Linked DNA regions of Homo sapiens: region 2 is linked to region 1. The links are contacts of gene promoters, found by promoter capture Hi-C in human tissues and cell types (Jung and others, 2019). All regions are on one chromosome and are shown on one strand. Each heading gives the region's core, a stretch centred on a gene start or on the middle of the fragment in contact. The rest is flanking DNA. Distances are from core to core; before and after follow the strand shown. Region 1 holds the start of COL25A1 (collagen type XXV alpha 1 chain). Region 2 overlaps COL25A1 (collagen type XXV alpha 1 chain).

Region 1 (3,580 bases), core at 604-3,103:
ACAGAGAAGATGGAATAGACAGAGACCCAAGGAGCACCAACTTTCAGAGAAATGAAAGAGGAAAAGCCTGCAAATGAGACTAAGGAACAGCTAGAGGTTACAGAAAGAGTTTGTACATTAAAATATTTGTACCCATTATTTGGGTCCTGTTATTGGAAACATGTTTAATCACAATTAAATGTGACTTGAAATTTATCTGTTTTAAAATTTATTTAAAAACGTTGTTTATATTTAAAAGAGGAACAGTAAATCCTCACATCGCAGGGTTATGAGGTTCAAATACAAAAAGTATTTGAAAATATTTTGGAAAGTATTATACCAGTGGTTCTCAAACTTTAGTAGTATATATCAAAATCATTTGGAGGGCTTGTTAAAACACAGATTGCTGTTTTTTTTAAAATTATTATTTCAGTAGTGGTAGTAGCAGTTTCTGATTCAGATCTGTGGTAGGAACCTAGAATTTTAATGTCCAAGTTCTCAGGTGATGCTGATGTTATTGGTCTAGGACCATCCTTTGAGAACCACTGTGTAATACAAATGAATTATGGTTTTGACTTTATAGCCAAATTCATTGAGTTTTCCTCCAATGTTAGTCTCTTTCTTCCTCTAATGCTGTTATTTCCTTACCTTGCTTCACACCTAGCAATATCCGTTTACACATGTGAAAGACCAACTTAGTGAAGTATTTTGTTGACTGTTTACAATAGTAAGCAACGACTTCAGGTTAGCTTAATTAAGGAGAATAGGAAAAATATATGGTTTTTTTTTTTATAGGGAGATAAGAAGGAACTCTTTGGAATAAGAGGTGGGATTTCTGTTTTCCCCAAAGTCAATTAGATGTCAAATGCTACTTGTTACCAACTTTCCAAAATCCCATTAGAGACCTTGTAATTTGATCCAGAGAGAACAGCATTAAGAGTCAGGTAAAAGGAAAAACTGACTTCATTCTTCATTCCTTTCCTAAATCCTGAGAAATGTGTATACCTCAACACTCCCTTTTCCAATCCCGCAAAACAGGGAATCAGGAAAACACATTAGCACCCTAGTACAGACTAGGAATACAGAGCTGGGAGGAGACTCAGTGCCGTCAAGACAAGGAAACTGGGGGAGGGGAAGGAAAACTTCCCCTCGTTGGACAATCTGAGGGCTGCAGTGGGAAGAGAAGGGAAGTGGGGAAATGTACCTCAGACGTCGGCCAGACACTTTGCCTCTGGGCATGTGGGAAAGTGAGGGAGGAGGGAAAAGCGCTGCACCACAGCGAGATAGCAACAGCTCCTGCGGCTGCTTTTGAGTGAAGATCAGTAGAGATAGAGCGTGCCGCTTCACATCTTCCTCCCGGAGGCCATTTCTCCATTTTTATGTGGGATAAAAAGGGGGCGCTGGGCTGAGTCAGTATAAGCCAAAGTTGCCGCCTCTTGCGCAGCCGACCCCGCTTCGGCCCCGGCCCAGGCCAGAGAGGTGGCCCTCGGAGATGCTGAAGTTACTCCGCGCAGGGGGAGGGGTCGCCAGGCTCCTCTCCAATCACGGTGGCCGCTCCAGCTATTTGCATACATTATGCTAATAACAGACCTCCTGCCCCGCTCCCACCCAAGCTTCCCGCCTCCCTTGGGGGTTCCCCGGGCCGGCCCGCGGGCTGGGCCAAGGTGAATACATTATGATAATAAGGCGGGCTCCTGCTTTGCCTTCGGAAGGGGGGCGCGCAGCAGCGGGAGCGGCAGGCCGGACGCCGGGCGCCGGGAGGGGGTCGGGGGAGGGACGTCGTGCTCGGAGCGCGCGCGCACTCACACACTCACACACACACTCACGCGAGCATCGCGAAGGGTATTTAAGGATCGCGCACGCGGGGCTGCGGAGATCCTTCGGGCAGCCGCGACTTCGGCTTCGCGAGTAGCATTGGTTCCTTGGGTTTATTTCGTTTTCCTCTCTCTTCTCCACCTTAGTCGCCCCTTTCGCGCTGCGCTGTAGCGTGCTCTCACAGCCTTTTTGCCTTGAACTGAATGCAGGTGGGAAACAGGTCGGCGTGCCGAAAGACACCGAGTAGGTAGAAATAAGGCAAACTCACAGAGGCGCAACAGGTCCGGTCCTCCGTGGCCAGGGCGAGCCGCGGCCCCGCGTGGCGCCTCGGCCGTTGCCCTCGGACCCTGAGCGGCCACTGTTGGGGCCCTCGAAAGAGGTGTCGGTCCTCTGGGAGTCGGAAGAGCTGTCTGGGTGGGTTTCGTCTTGCTTTTTACCCCACCGCCACCCAGTCCCCGGACGGAGGGTGCTTTTCACTTCCAGCTGGGAGGAGAGAAGAAAGCGGGGATGGTGCACGCCTGCGGGTCTGGACGCTGAGCAAGGCAGGGGTCCGTATCCGCTCGTGGGCTTGACTCCACCAACTAGTTGTGCAGCCACAGGGACTGAACTTTGGAGGAATCGACCTTTTTCTTTCCTTTTAGGATTATTTGAGGTGTAGAGGGTGGGAAGCGAAGCCGAGACGGCCGACCCCGCCACGATGCTGCTGAAGAAGCACGCAGGGAAAGGAGGGGGCCGGGAGCCCAGATCCGAGGACCCGACCCCTGCCGAACAGCATTGTGCCCGGACCATGCCCCCGTGTGCCGTCCTGGCGGCCCTCCTGTCAGTGGTGGCCGTGGTGTCTTGCCTGTACCTGGGTGTGAAAACCAACGACCTCCAGGCGAGGATCGCCGCTCTCGAATCCGCCAAAGGGGCCCCTTCCATTCATCTGCTGCCTGATACCCTGGATCACCTCAAGACTATGGTGCAAGAGAAAGTGGAGCGACTTCTGGCTCAGGTGTGAGAGGCTGGGGTATTTTGCACGTGGGTAACATCTTGTACAAGCGTGACTCTGTGTGCATGACTAGCCGCTACCCTTACTGTACCCATACTTGGTGTGGCTGTGTGTGTGCGCGCGCGTGCATGTGTTGGCCAAGGATCTATGCTCACTGTAGCATATATTTATATGTGCACATCCCTTGATGTCCCCATCCCTATCTCTAATCTTCCCTCACTCTCTCTTAATGTTTGCGTGTTAAACACATAGGAAGGTCTAAAAGGGTTCGGAAAGGGCATTTTATCTCTTTTTAGTTGTCCTAAGTCAAACCCAATTGTGGAGAGAATATTTCTTGCAGAGATAGCATCTGTTAAATCTTTTACATGTTGTAAGATGGTTAGGGTCATAGATGTTATTAATATATAAAAAAGGTAATCACTCTTAAATGTAAAATAATGTCATATATAATTTAAAATCAATAATTTCACACGTTGAATCTTTTCATATTAAAAGTTTAAACTTTTTTTTTTTAAAGTAGCTTTATTTTTGGTAAAGGATGCAGTGCCGGGGTATTTATGAATGCAGAGCCCTTGGAATTGAGAGTTGAGAGGAATCTATGTTATGTGTAAGGGTACCTTTAGACTAGAGTAAGGGGGTTTTCTGGAACCTTACCCTAGCCGGGAGCCTATTTGGCAGTAGTTGCAGCCTAGCATGATAAATAAAGCAGTTGACCTTCATGTATAAAATATTGGCTGTTATTGGTAAGCCACAGCTTACCTAATACTGCAACATTTTAGTGCTAGGTTTTTACAT
Region 2 (3,580 bases), core at 361-2,860, 390 kb after region 1:
TCTAGAATTTGTTTTTAAACAAATTTCTTGAACTCTAGACTTTGTTTTTCTGGAATCTTGAACTCTAGAATTTGTTTTTCTAAGAAAGGAGCTTACAATGACATAATAATTTTGTTTTAGTAAGAGCACCTCAATATCCTTAAACTGTCTTGAGAAAACATTTTCTTCTCCATTACAATTTTGCTTTTTCCAAAAGATTACTTTTGATGCTTAGAAAAGTTTTCAGACAGTGGTTAGGGGAGGATATAATTTCTAAGCCATCAGAAATATGGCAAATAATATCCAGCTACTTGGGGTGGGGGCGCTCAGGCAGAAGGATTGCTTGAGTCCAGCTTGGGCACCATAGTGAGATCCTATCCTATCTCTTAAAAAGAAAAAAGTAAGAAATATGGCAAATAAAAACTAGGGAATAAAAAATTATTTTCTTATGTTTGAAAAAAAGAAAGAAAAGTATACTATTTTAAGAAAACACTGGCCAGGAAAGGTGGCCCATGCCAATAATCCCAGCATTTTTAGAGGCTAAGGCAGGAGGATTGCCTAAGCTCAGGAGCTTGAGACCAACCTGGGCAACATGGTGAAACCCTGTCTCTATTTATAAAAAAGAAAGGGAGAGAGAGAGAAAGAGAAAAAGAAGACAAAAATGCTTTGTTTCCCATAGAACATTGTCCATCCATTCAGGTTGGCAAAATAGGTGATGGCCTTAGCACATAAACTTGGTGTGACGTTTTTCCTACACATTATCTTTTACATTTTGATCACCTTGATTGCTAATCTGAATACTTATTTTTGTAATGGTCTTTCAGTTCTTCTGACTGTATTAGGAGAAAGGACTGCTTATGCAGTGGCATGGCATTAGACTCCAATCTTGCCCCTTCTGGCATCACAACCTATGAAGGGCTACAGAACATCCCTTTGTGAAAAGTAGGAGGTAGTGTGGTACAGAGAAAAGGGCGTGGTCTCTGCATCTGAGAGAGAATGCTATGTGTCCTCATTTGGGCCAATCACTTAACTTTCTAAGGTTCCAGTGTACAATATAGAGACAGACCTTGTAGTATTAATTAGACAATATATCTAAAGTGAATATTATGTAATAGATGCCCAATAAATGCTGTCAAGTGTCTCTAGTAGTATTCTCATGCCTTAAGAATTTCAGCAGGCTGGGCGCAGTGGCTCATGCTTGTAATCCCAACGCTTTGGGAGGCCAAGGTGGGAGGATCACTTAAGCCCAGTTCAAGGTTACAGTGAGCCGTGATCATGCCACTGCACTCCAGCGTGGGCAACATAGTGAGACCCTGTCTCAAAAAAAAAAAAAAAAAAAAAAGTTTCAGCAAATGAACCTTAGACTTACATTCAAGCAGGGAGGAAAAGCCAGGTGAATTCCTCATAGAAAGAAAATGAATATGCAGAAATACACATAGAGGTAGAATGTGTTCTCTATCCCCTGGCTGTCTCCCTGACCCTAAGGACTAAGGTCCCCAGCTCTTAAAGACTGGGTAGTTGGAATGTCACTGCTATAGATACAAGAAAGAGAAACACATGTTTCACATTATTATGAAAGCACAGTCACCAGTGGGCTGATGTAGGAGCCCTGTCCTGGCATCAGAACACTCTGTGCTCTTTCACCTCTTGTGTAGCCTTTGAAGGATCCCTTTTTTCTCTGCATTCAAAGGGACTTCATTTGTAAAATGAGAGCAGAAGCTGTACCAATTTATCTCTAAGTTTCTCAGAGATACTATGAGTACACAAAAAGTCCCCCATCCCCCATGTCTTGTTTCCATGCAACCAGCTTTTAGCATCCTCTGTTCCCAATTCTGAAAGCTGATGTTTTCATAATTTGGACTTGTTTCCACCAACCAAGCAGTTAGGGCAGATCTAAAGCAAATCCTACCTAAAAATATAAAATGTTATCTATTTCTTCTTTGGCTAATTATATTGAACACAAAAATAATGTAATTCTCCTGAAGATCTTGTTGGTTTAAACATATAATTAACATTTTATTTGCCCTCCATAATTTATTCTTTCCCCCACCATGCGCGTGTGCATGAGTGCATGCACGCAAACGCACACTCACACATACATGAAGTGATGTATATTTGAATATTGGTCAATTAGTTCCTACTTCAAATACTCTGGAGAAATGTGAGCTATTTAAAATAATTTTATAGTAGAACCATGTTTATAGTGAATAATTTTTTGGCAAAATAGATTGCTGTCTACAATTTTTGTTTATATACTTAGATGTTGGTTTTTAAAAATCTGAACTGTTAAAAGGTGTTATTAAAACTCTGCATTTTTCTACTTTTTCCTGATTTTCATCTTTCTTAGCATCCATAAGAACAAATAATCACTATGACAATTTATTTGAATAGCAGTTAGTGCCCAACACTGTGCAAATGCCATGAAAGAGGAGCTGGAGGTCGGGTGCGGTGTCTCACGCCTATAATCCCAACAGTTTGGGAGGCCGAGGTGGGTGGATCACCTGAGGTCGGGAGTTCGAGACCAGCCTGACCAACATGGGGAAACCCCGTCTGTACTAAAAATACAAAATCAGCGGGGCATGGTGGTGCATGCCTGTAATCCCAGCTACTTGGGATGCTGAGGTAGGAGAACCCTGGAGGCGGAGGTTGCAAGTGAGCCAAGATCATGCCATTTCACTCCAGCCTGGGCAACAAGAGCAAAACTCCGTCTTAAAAAAAAAAAAAAAAAAAAAAGGAGCTAGAGACAGAGACCACACAAAGTCCCATTTTTTGCTCCTCTTAATTCACATCCTTGTCTCTTGATTACTATAAAAATAATGTTGAATATTTTCAGGATTAAAATGAAATTTTTTTTGTCTATGCAAGCTAGAATTTTTCTGAGGCCTGCAGAGTCATAGGGATTGTTTCCAAAAAAAAAGATAAATATCAGATGATCTTGATTCGTGCAATTTTAAGTGCTTTCTAGAGTTTATTGTTATTTTTAAAACTTCAAATATAACATAAATTTAAAAATTGATATTAGTGTGTCAACTATGAATCCATCACAAATAGCTAAGTGATTTTTAAGTAACATTAAATTTTAATTAGTTTATAGTTATGACATTTGAAATTCCTTTTTATCTCTTATACATGGATAACACAGTTCTTCACTGACATTAATCTTCACAGCATATTTTTAATGGCATTTTTATTGTAAGTATATTTAGAGAATAGATAAATTGAAGCTCTCAGACTTTCAAAGCTTAAGCCATTGAGTCAAGTCTATGCAGTGAATGATACAATAAATCCAATATTTTTTATCCCCCATTCACTTACTATAAACACTAAACACAGTTTTTTTGTTATTTATTTATATATTTACTGCCACCTACATTCCTGAAAGTTTTCAACATGTTGTAGGGCTGTTTTTGTTTTCTAGTTAATTAGCTTAAAATTTTCCTTTAGCAGAATTTACCCAGTAATTTATTATGCAGTATGTTTATGACTTTCTAATGCTAAACTTTAAGAAAAGATATTGAGACTAAATTAAGTGATTGATTGATGATTCCAGATTAGTTAGTAGTTCAAGGAAAGTATCTTACAACCATTCAATCTTTTTTGT

The links. Contacts are between HindIII fragments. The study calls those that stand out against the background at their distance.
Region 2: a fragment that was not itself captured here is called in contact with the fragment with the promoter of COL25A1 in region 1 in 1 of the 25 tissues and cell types used here (dorsolateral prefrontal cortex).

What each region holds. Positions count from the first base shown.
Region 1 is chr4:109,300,931-109,304,510 of GRCh38, reverse strand. COL25A1 (collagen type XXV alpha 1 chain) reads left to right here and starts at 1,853. Exons shown (of 38, transcript NM_198721.4): 1 at 1,853-2,342; 2 at 2,436-2,788. The coding sequence starts at 2,492. COL25A1-DT (COL25A1 divergent transcript) reads right to left here and starts at 1,476. Exons shown (of 3, transcript NR_160939.1): 1 at 1,184-1,476. RefSeq lists an enhancer at 999-1,781. The HindIII fragment of the contact is 11,543 bases long and covers 1-3,580 here.
Region 2 is chr4:108,912,394-108,915,973 of GRCh38, reverse strand. The region is part of intron 13 of COL25A1 (collagen type XXV alpha 1 chain); the gene reads left to right. Among named protein-coding and RNA genes, the nearest start is that of ETNPPL, 150 kb to the right of the region's middle. The HindIII fragment of the contact is 4,321 bases long and covers 1-3,580 here.